Linked DNA regions of Homo sapiens: all the other regions are linked to region 3. Evidence: promoter capture Hi-C in 16 types of primary human blood cells and fetal thymus (Javierre and others, 2016). All regions are on one chromosome and are shown on one strand. The core of a region is centred on a gene start or on the middle of the fragment in contact, and the rest is flanking DNA. Distances in the headings are between cores, read along the strand shown. Region 1 holds the start of SMIM13 (small integral membrane protein 13). Region 2 holds the start of MAK (male germ cell associated kinase). Region 3 holds the start of SLC35B3 (solute carrier family 35 member B3).

Region 1 (3,478 bases), core at 187-2,686, 2.7 Mb before region 3:
TAATTTGTACATTTATCGTGTAATGAACAAGCCCTATAGTATCTGTATGAATTCTGACCCATTATTACATCAACCTGAACCCATACTTCAGTCTTATAAATATGTGTAAACTCACTGACACGTGTTCTACGTACTTTTTAGATTTTCACAATTGCTTAGCCACTTTGCTAAGAGACCTGTGGTTATCAGCTACTATACATGTACAAAGAAATCAAAAAGATCTAAAATTGGGCTACCATTATTTGAAGAAAAAAGTTGAACGTCCTCTCATTCCAAGAAGGAAAATACGCACAGCATTCGAAATAGCACCATTATTATAGAACTGAGAGTTAGGTTACCCGACCCTGCAAGTTTAATATAGCCGGTGTTTCTAAGCTCTGCCTGGTCTCCACATCTCTGCTTGGAATTGAGTTTAAGGCTGAACTCTAAGTAAACAATTTCACGCGTGCTGAAAACCCAACTCTACCCCACTCGCTGATGAAACGAAGGTGACACCTCTCATTATTAAGGTCAGAATCTGTGCAAATGAAAAAGGACCAATCAATCACTTCACCTTCGAATGCAGGCCAAGGTTACAATCTGGGCAGCCTGTGGTGAGAATGAAAGAGCAGACGCTGCCGGTGAAGCAAGGCTGAGTTTCACTCAGAGGCAGGAAGCCCTGGAGCCTGTCCTTTCCCTCCCCAGGATGCCCGAGGGCCGGCCATGAGTAAAGGGCCCACCTCTGCGCTCAGCCCTAGAGGCTAAGGGACAACAGTTGATTTTAAGACAATTGTCCGTCCACGCCCTTTTGTTTTTTTCAAAAAAACAAACAACAAAAAAAACCCCAGCAGATCAGCGACCCGGCGTGTGGAACTGCCTCGCGGCTACCGCCCCCACTCACCGCACACCATCAGCAGCAGGACGATCAGCAGCGTGGCCACGAACACAAGCAGAGTCAGCCCGACGCTGTGCCACATCTTGGGGGCAGAAGGGCAGTCGGCTCGGGGCGGCTGGCGCGGACGGCGGTGAGCGCGGGCGGCGGCGCGTCCTGCGCTTCAGCGGCGGGCGCCAGGCGCGGCTGGGCGCCGGGGCGGCATGGGCGGCTGGCGCCCCCTCGGCAGCGCCCCCAGGGGGTGGGGCGGCGCAAAGGCGGGCACTGTGGGACCGCCCGCCCGCCCGATCCTTTTCCCGCCGGGGTGGCCAGAGCGCGGGAGGCAGGCGGGCCTCAGGGCGCCTCTAGTCCCTCATCGCCCCGGAGAGCCGAGGCCGCGGCACCCAGAGACCCCAGCGGTCGGATGCGCTTCCATGGCGGACGCCGCGCGCCTGTAGGGAGGACAGAGGGTAAGCACGGGTACACACGGCGGCCACAAGGCCCTCGTCGCTGTCCACCCGTGTCTCTGAGACCCCAGGGATGCCAGATGTCAGCGTCGCCCGGCCGCGGCTGTAGCGGCTTCTCCGCCCCAGGCCCCCTACCGCTGGGGCAGCTCATCACCAAGCTCGCCTCCTCCGCGGCGCGGGGTCGGCTGGGAGATGGAGTGCAGAGCCTGGTGGAGTCGGGACGGCGTTGTCTCGCAGGGACTACAACTCCCAGAATGCACCGCCACTCGGGCTTCGCTGCTTTCATTCTCGGGCGGCTCTGCCTTTGGTCTTGCTCAAGTCGCCTCAGTCGGACGACCGTGGGCTGGCCTTCTCCAAAGCCGCGGATCTGGCTGCCCGTCCTGCTGAGGCGCCAGTGAGATTTCAACCATTACTCCGTATACAAAGTCGTTTTGTTTCTAGCCGTAATCGATGAAGTACGGCGAGAGAGGAAAGAGGAGGCGGCTGCCTGAAAAACTGGTTGCTCGTGCACCTAGCCCTGTTGCCGGGGGCGAAGGTTGGCTATTTGGGACTTGGAGGAAGAACTCAGGTCCCTGCCGCAGACGCGGGTCAGGACACGAAATCTCATTTTCCCCCTGCAACAGATGTTATGTTCTATCTTTTCGTAAGTAAAGCATTTCAGAAATGGCCCGCGGGTGACTTAAGGACAGCTGCACTGCCCTCAAATCACCTGCCTGAGTTGTAAGTTAGACCCAGCTGCCTCCTTGAGACCAAGCTTGGAGATTTTGCCGCACTGGCTTACACCTCTACGAAACAAGACACTGTAGTAATCTCAACTACTGTATCTCCACCCAAAATTGAAACTCCCCACTTCCGCCAGATTACATTCATTTGTTAAAGAGGTGCCCCCAGAAGAATAGAGGGTAAATGTGTCCCTCTTTTAGAAGGAATCAGAGCCTTCGAGTTTTCCTGTGATTCTTTTGCTCCCTGAGATACCTTTTTACTCTTCTAAAAATTACAGTTTCCTGTCTTCTGTCTCCAAAAACAAACACAAAAGTTCTAAGCAGCAATCCCTTGATTTAATAAATGTATCCTGCCATACCCAGCTGCCCTACTATGTGAACTGTATTCCCTAAGAAGCAACATTAGGAACAAATACCATGTATAAAAATACATTAAAGGATAATTACTTGCTTTGCAACAGATTTAATATAGATTCCTGTGAAGAGAATGAACCCAGTGCAATTAAGATATATTTACAAAAAATCAGTGTGTGCTTTTTTCATGGGTGGTTCAATTATGTTGCATAATTAAAACACATTTTATTAAAAGCCAGTTGAAAATACGCGTCAGGGCTAGGCGAGGTGGCTCACGCCTGTAATCCCAGCACTTTGGGAGGCTAAGGCGAGCAGATCACCTGAAGTCAGGAGTTCGAGACCAGCCTGGCCAACATGGTGAAACCCTGTCTCTACTAAAAATACAAAAATTAGCCGGGGGTAGTGGTGGGCGCCTGTAATTCCAGCTACTCAGGAGGCTGAGGCAGGAGAATCGCTTGAACCCAGGAGGCCAAGGTTGCAGTGTGCCGAGATCACACCACTGCACTCCAGCTTGGGCAACAGAGAGACTCTTATCAAAAAAAAAAAAAAAAAGAAAAGAAAAGAAAACAGCCATCGGAAGAACTAAAATAATTTATTTTAAAGGACCTTTTTCTCTTTGATTCACATATATTGGAATACCTATAGGGGCCAGGCACTGTTCTAAGTGCTGGGGATACAGCAGTGAATAAGACAAAGTGCCTTTACTCAAGATGCTTATATGACAGTTGGAAAAAAACAGACAATAAGCATAAATAGAGAAATCTCAGGAACTGCTATTAATAGCAAGACAGTGTGATAAATGTAGGTGTGTTATTTTAGCTTGTTGGGGGATCAGGGAAGGTCTTCCTGAGGAAGTAACATTTAATCTGAGTCCTGAATGACAACAAGGATTCATGGAAAGACCTAGAGAAGAACATACCAGGTAAAGGGAACAGCTAGTGCAAAACCCACAAGAAGGAAATAAACCTGGCCATTGCTCTAAGCCTTTTCAATGTTTCTCAACTCTGGATGCACATTTCAAATCACGTAGGGAGATTTATAAATTACGAATGGCTAGACCTCATCCCCATACCAAATGAACAGAA
Region 2 (3,408 bases), core at 30-2,529, 2.4 Mb before region 3:
ATGAGCCACTGAGCCCCGTCTGTTTTTAAATGTTTATTTCAATAGCTCTTGGGGTACAAGTGGTTTTTTGTTACATAGATGAATTATATAGTGGTGAATTCTGAGATTTTAGTGCACCCATCATCTGAGTAGTGTATATGGTACCTAGTGCATAGTTTTTTTTATCCCTAGGCTCTCTCCCATCCTCCCCTTTCTGAGTCTCCAAAGTCCATTATTTCACTGTGTATGCCTTTGCATACTCATAGCTTGGCTTTTGCTTATAAGTGAGAACATACAGTTTTTGGTTTTCCACGCCTGTATTACTTTGCGTAGAATAAGGACCTCCCACTCTTCCAAGTTGTTGCAAAAGACATTATTTCATTCTTTTTTTGTGACTGAGTAGCAGCCTATGGTGTATATATACCACATTTTCTTTATCCACTCATTAGTCAATGGGCACTTAGATTGGTTCCACATCTTTGCAATTGTGAATTGTGCTGCCATAAACATACGCGTGAAAGCCTACTTCACTTTAAGCTGTGAGGGCCACAGGCATGTCTGTCGTGTCTACCTTGGCGCTATTCTTGGTCCCAAGCCCACATCCTGACACCTAATAATTACTAACTTGCCGCACCACTGCTTCATCACTTATGTTTCTGTTTCGTAGACCCTTTTTGCCAGCCAATCTGAACTATTTGCAGTAACACAAGTGTGCCTTCCTCTCTAAATTCTAGACTAGTTACAATTTACCCATTTATTCACACATTCAGTCATTTTTCTTGGAATTACCACTATCTAACTCTGTGGCTGATACTAGGCAGGTTCTCTGAATGAATAAATGGAAACAAACTTAGAAGGGCAGCTCAAGAGGTAATACATACCCAAGGAATTGACCAATTTAAGGAACTGCATACAAGAACAGTTTTTCCCCAGGCACAAGTAAACAAGTGCAAGTATGAGGCAAACAGACTTCCTTCTCTTGCTCTGCCCGGTCTGGGAACCATATTTTAATTAATCAAGACTTTGTAGAATGAATCGGAACAAAACCAAAACAAAATAAAGGGCAAACAAACCAACTTCTGACAAAGACCTGACTGAAAAGGTAATCAACTCCCCTAAACCCCAAGTCTAAATGGCACACTTGCTGCAGCTCAGCCGACAGTCCCCCGGCTCCATGAAGCCCCGCCCCGGGGAAGGCGGGGCCTGCGGGAATTGGCGGGGATTTCCCGCGAGGCCACGCCCTCTCTGGGCCGGCCGTAGGCCCGCCTGCTGCCCCCGCCGTTTCCTAGGAGATGAAACACACAAGACGCCGGAGCTTCACAAGGGAGCGAACGAGGTAAGCAGCAGGCGCGGACAGGTAATCCCCAGCGGGCTGCAGGGCCACCACCCTCTGTCCGACCCAGCCGGAGCCCGACCTGCGAGGCTGGCCGGGCATGTCCCCTCGGCGCCCTGTGCTACCAGGGCCAATCTCCGCCCGGAGACCGGTCCCTGACGCCGGTAGGGGAAGGACTGGAGGGAGGAGGGTCCCCGGAGGGGCGGAGCGGGCGGGAGTGGTCAGCCCGAGGGAAGGCGGTCGGTGTCTCCCAGACCTCTTGACCACTTTCCCGCCTCCTGGACCGCGGGGGCCGGCCTGGCGTGGGAGGATGACGGCCGGGCGTCCCTTAGCCTGAGACCCCCGCCCCTAAACTCTCCTCCGGGATCTCCCACCTCTGCTCCCCTGCTGCTTGGGCTGGCGGTGGAAACTGTTTTTAGGACAGAGAGGCAGGATTGGGTCTCAGGGAGGCAGCGGAACTGAGTTCAGAACTGTTGCAAAATCTAAAAGGAGGGAGAAAAACAGGAATTAGGTCCGACTCCAGCCCTCGCTGGTGCATCCCAAAGGACGCTCAGGTGAAAGTGGAATTCCGCACACCCCCGTCCCCCCCAACGGCGCCGGACTCCCGGCGCCCGGGGACGCCCCCTCCTTCCACCACGCGGTCCCTGGAGCCTTTTAAGAGCCCTGGTTTGCAGAGTCGGATCAGAAAGTGTGTGACGAAAACTGTCCCTTTTCTGCAAGTAATCCGTTTTAATTTAGGGACAGGTCGAGAGTGCGGTGTCGAGAGCAATAAAACTGGTTTTTAGTGGTTAGTAATCTCAATCCTACAAGGAAAGAGCTGTATGCAAATGTGGTTAGATAATCGTTTAAAAGAAACAGACATTTGTTCTAATGATAACGGAATTCTCAAAGAGGGAAGCCAAAGTTATCTGACTTTATTTATTCAGAAACACAACCCATTAAGTGAAATAATGGTGAAAACAAAAGTGACTTTCCAGCTTTTCGATCGGGCCCCGCCTCCCCGGCCCTTCAATTCCCGAGGCTTGACCGGGAGGGAGAAAGTTCCCCCAACCGCGCCACCGCCTGCTTCCACTGCAGGCACCGGGCAGGACGTTTAATCTCTTCGTCGGGGTGGACTTTTTTTGTGTATAAGCTTTGAAATAATTTGTGAATATGAGCACAGAGAACTGTGCTTTTATATTTTAAGATACAGTCTTTGTTTTCCCATTGTAATAGCTCATTTAATTTCTGTAAAACTTCGACTTGGTTAGTTTGGGATCTTTTTTTCCTGCGTTGCTTTTTAAAGAGTTTGGTGACTTTTAAAACGTTAATTACTCTTTTGTTGTGTATTAGAAGCGTTAAGCCAGCCTCGGAGTGACATAATATGTTCTAGAAAGCCACGTTGAAGACATCCAAGCCTTATCTCTTCAGTTTTTGGCAGACGCTTGTTTTACCCTTCATTTGCCCTCTTTGCTAATCTTCTTTAATCCTATCTGAATCTCTTATTAGCTGGCAAAAGCTGTTGAGAGTAAAGGCTATATTTACAACAATTGTGCACTTAGAGAAACGGTAATTATGAACTTAGATTAAAAAGTTGAAAACTAGAATGAGAGATAAATTATAAGGGTATTTATTTTTGTGTAGGTCTATAATTAAGCCTCTAAATAAGCATCTTTTTCTTTAACCCATAGGAAGGTCAATAAATGTTATAGCTTGATTGTAGAAAATTCCAAGTTTTTAACAATTCTGTTAAATTGAGGATGATAGTTATATTTACTTGGGTTTTTTGTTGCATATGTATCATATCTATATATATTCATGTACATAAGAAACTGTGTTAATATATTCCTATTTTGTAGATTAGTTTTCCATAGGTCAACAGAGAAGAATATATGTAACTTGTAGAGAAATATTATTGTGCGTGAACTGGAGAACCATGGGAAGCCTGTGTTTAAGGAACATAGACTGCTTTTTGATTAGTAATCAGTAGTTGCTATGCCACATTGATAAAAGTAGTTGCTTATGTGCTATCAGGGAGCAGGGACATGGAATAATGATTTTTTAAAAGCTTTACCTTGATGTCTATGTCTCTACATTAGACAATTGTATGTTCAGGG
Region 3 (3,725 bases), core at 1,188-3,687:
TGTGTGAAGTCCGAAGAACCTCAGGGAAGAAAGCAAAGAGGCCTGGTAAATGTGGGAGAGGAGAAGCTGTCAGGGAGAAGAATGTGTAAGATTGCATGAAACTGCCCCCCACAACCAAGTCAGAAATGAGAGGTGATGCTCAGAAGATGTGAATCAAGACACCAAAGGTTTCTGATACTACAGAATTATTAATTTCTTAAAAATTTAAAACCAATTCATAGGACCAGGCGCAGTGGCTCACGCTTATAATCCTAGCACTTTGGGAGGCTGAGGTGGGTGGATCACTTGGGGTCAGGAGTTCGAGACCAGCCTGGTCAATAAGGTGAAACCCCATCTCTACTAAAAATACAAAAATTAGCCGGGCATGGTGACAGGCGCCTATAATCCCAGCTACTCGGGAGGCTGAGACAGGAGAATGGCTTGAACCCAGGAGGCAGAGGTTGCAGTGAGCTGAGATGTGCCACTGCACTCCAGCCTGAGCGACAGAGTGAGCCTCTGCCTCAATCAGTCAATCAGTCAATAAAAAACAATTCATAGCTGCAAGTCTTTAATTTTGTTTACCACGTGGTTATCACAGGAGTAAATGGGAAGTATTGTAAGAGAGTCGATATTTATTAAACACCTACTCTATAATAAGTACTACTCCAGATAGTCTCTCCTACATTTCACATTTGACATGTAAAAATATTTCACTGACATGGTAGTCAGAGAAGAGCCAGGTGACATTTGAGCAGTGACTGGAAAAAAATGAGGAAGCAAGCTCTGTGGACATCTGAGAGGGCAGTGTTCCATGCAGAAGGAACAACAGCTACAAAGCACTGATGCTTGCTGTGCTTGGGGGCAATTAGAAAAGCTCTGAAGTGTAGCTTGGATGTGATCCATCAAGAATAAGTTCAGTCTTAAAAGTCAGGGTAAGAATTTTGAACTTTAATCTGAGTAAAATGGTAAACCGCTAAAAGGTTCTGCACAGAGGAGTGGCATATTCAGGTTCTAATGGGATCACTCCAGCTGCTGAATGCAACTATGTAGAGAAATAAAGGGAATGCAGAAAGCTATGCTCACGGCTACTGCAATTGTCCAGGCATGAGCAGATGGTACCTTGTAACACCTCTTGTACCTTAAGTTGTTTTATACTGCCATTTACTTTCTCATGGAAACCCCTAATTTCTTCAGGACAGGGAGCTCATACGCATAGTTTACGATATGAGCTATACATATGCCCATTTAATAAATACTTGATAAATAACCACCATATAAATGGCTAACAGTAGTACTAAATTCACATTATACAGTGACGATATGGCATCACTGAAAGGTTTTGTCATTTACTATCTCTTTAGGAAATTTAAGTTCTCTAAGCCTTAATTCCAACATTCCTAAGTGTTGCTAACACCAGCCTAACAACGTTGGCAAGTATTAAACGAAAATGTCTACCCAGACCTTTTTTTCTCACCACCAAAGTAGGTGCCTTGCTTTCTTACAAACCCTCGATCCCAATACAAGACACAAATGCTACCCTTTCTGAAGAGTGCCTGTAAAATTTTAAAAGTTGTCCATAACTGACTGGATTCTAACATACATATTAATCCAATTCATCCCTTTCTGGTATTCAAGGCATGCTTTCAAAAATTGTCCATCTTCGTTACAGTAATATTTTCCTTAATTATTCTCTGAAAACAGCTCATCCCCAAACCGTCTTGGTTTTTACGTTATTACATCTCAGTGGTGATGGATGAGGCCCTAAACGCGGGGAAAACCTTTTACAAAAGTTTTGATGGCTGGTCCTCAAGCTTTGAGATTTACCTTCCAAGAATTAAGCAGCACTATCGAAACAATGCTGGCAACATTTTTATGAGGTTGCAAGGACCACGGTTGCTGCAGCTACAGGATGAGTTATAACGTCAGAAGCAACCCAAGCGTTACTTCAGGCCCATCTTCACCGGAGAAGCCCGTATGAATCAGGCAAAAACATAAAAACAGGTTCTGTGACTTTGCCGTATCTCATTTAGATCAAGTAGCACGCAGAAGGAAGACAAGGATTTTAAAATCTGGCTCCAACATTCTCCACTTGGTCGCGTTCTCAAATCTCAGCCCAGGGCCGCTGACGTAAAGTCGCCTCTCTCGTGGGCACCACGGGCTCGAGGGTAGCCGGCAGCTGAAACCCGAGGGGCTTCAGAGGCTTGGAGGCCAGGAGCAGGCAGAGCGCCGATGGGATAATGAGATTCTCCAGCAGATCGGCGCTCACCGACCTACTCCATTTCAGTGGGTAGAGGTAAAGGCTGAAAGGCGACCCTCGCACCGCCCGGCCCACCTAGGCAGTGCCGGCCTAGCGTCTCTACCCCATAGAGCATGCGCGGGAGGTAACGGCCCGCCCGCCACCGGCCACACAGGCCTGTCGGGAGGCGGGGCCACGCGTCTGCGCACGCGCGCAGGGACACATAGGCGGAAGTGGCCTGCGGGCGCCGGAGTTGAGAGTGCTTTCCGGGGAGGCGACCGCCGCGGTGGAAAGTGCAGGAGTGGGCGAGGAGGAGGAGGAAGAGGAGGTGATGGCGACGGACCAGGGGAGGGGGAGATGCTCCGTCTAGCTCAGACGCCACGCAGGCTGCCGTCACCCTTCCGGGTGACATACCGGCCTTGGGGTACGCGTGCCTTCGGGGCCTTTCCTGTGTTTGGGACCCAGATCTCCTCTCCTCCAGAAAACCTTGACACTGCCCATCTTCCTCATCCAGAAGGAGCGTTCGAGGAATGGATGAGGTCGGGATGGAAGAAACGGGTGATTCCCTTTTTTGAAAGAGCGGAAACCGGCCGGGCGGTTTCCAGGGAGGAGCATCTGTTCCTCCTCGCCCGTTTTTCGCCCTCGGGCTGGCGAGAACTCCCTCAGGTCCCAATCCGTGGACTCGCAGGGGTGAGGTGACCTCAAGGGGTCTTTTACGCTGTTCTCGGGGTCTCTGGAGAACTGTCAGTCACCTGGATACCTCTAGACTGTATTTACAGTTAACTGTTTCCTCGTTCCGTGTTTATTAAATAGGGGCACTCCAAGGTACTCTTTTCTCCATTTGGCTTGCAGTAGAATGTGATTGTTCTGGCTGGGCTATTAAGTTTATGGCATAAACTTCCACTAGAAGTTCTGCAAGTTTCCTCCAGTCTTTGCAACTGAATTATCTCTCCCGTCTTTTTATTATTTAAGGAATATTGAAAGTAAAAGATGGAATGATTTGGTGCGCTAACAAAATCTTAAGTGTTGAGTATCTGCATTTTTTCTACATTAGGATATCAGAAGCCTAGAATTGTTTTTTGATTAAACGTTTTTCTAAGTGAATTGAGATAGTTTGGAACTTGGAAGAGAGGCAGCATTTCAAAATAATTTAGACAGCGTTATTTTTACTTAATTACTTAATATATAAAGTCCTAGTGTTAACTTTTTCTCTTGGAAAAAAAAAAGAATAGTCTTCAAACATTAGCACAGGGTTTCTCCACCTTTGTGTAATGATGTGTGTACAAAGAAATGAGATGGAACTTTGTTTTTTCTGTTTTATAATCGTACACCATAGGCCATGATTGATTCCGGAGCGCAGTTAATCAAGGCATAATGGCATGGTAAGATTCTTTTATTTGTAACGTTGAGTGTGGCAAAGTATAGTTAAAATCACGTTTTTTCAGGTTAATGACACCGTAATGACTTTTTTTTCATATTCTACCTTTTTTTGGTGTGGGACTTTTGTCCT

Evidence for each region. Contacts are between HindIII fragments. The CHiCAGO score rates a contact against its expected background, and 5 or more counts as called.
Region 1: a contact is called between the fragment with the promoter of SMIM13 here and the fragment with the promoter of SLC35B3 in region 3, in 2 of 17 cell types (non-activated CD4 T cells and activated CD4 T cells). The highest score is 6.9, in non-activated CD4 T cells.
Region 2: a contact is called between the fragment with the promoter of MAK here and the fragment with the promoter of SLC35B3 in region 3, in 2 of 17 cell types (activated CD4 T cells and naive CD4 T cells). The highest score is 6.3, in activated CD4 T cells.

The regions. Positions count from the first base shown.
Region 1 is chr6:11,091,792-11,095,269 of GRCh38, reverse strand. SMIM13 (small integral membrane protein 13) reads right to left here and starts at 1,436. Exons shown (of 2, transcript NM_001135575.2): 1 at 881-1,436. The coding sequence starts at 956. RefSeq lists enhancers at 747-866, 747-1,288, 1,537-1,746, 1,289-1,829 and a silencer at 967-1,276. The HindIII fragment of the contact is 2,504 bases long and covers 1-2,073 here.
Region 2 is chr6:10,836,410-10,839,817 of GRCh38, reverse strand. MAK (male germ cell associated kinase) reads left to right here and starts at 1,279. Exons shown (of 15, transcript NM_001242957.3): 1 at 1,279-1,315. RefSeq lists enhancers at 597-756, 807-866 and a silencer at 1,087-1,216. The HindIII fragment of the contact is 3,144 bases long and covers 1-2,446 here.
Region 3 is chr6:8,434,257-8,437,981 of GRCh38, reverse strand. SLC35B3 (solute carrier family 35 member B3) reads left to right here and starts at 2,437. Exons shown (of 10, transcript NM_001370479.2): 1 at 2,437-2,639. It overlaps LOC100506207 (a long non-coding RNA gene), which reads right to left and starts at 2,359. Exons shown (of 5, transcript NR_038980.1): 1 at 1,804-2,359; 2 at 1-42. RefSeq lists enhancers at 2,040-2,129, 2,210-2,289, 2,230-2,399, 2,600-2,659, 2,156-2,697 and 1 more. The HindIII fragment of the contact is 10,856 bases long and covers 1,793-3,725 here.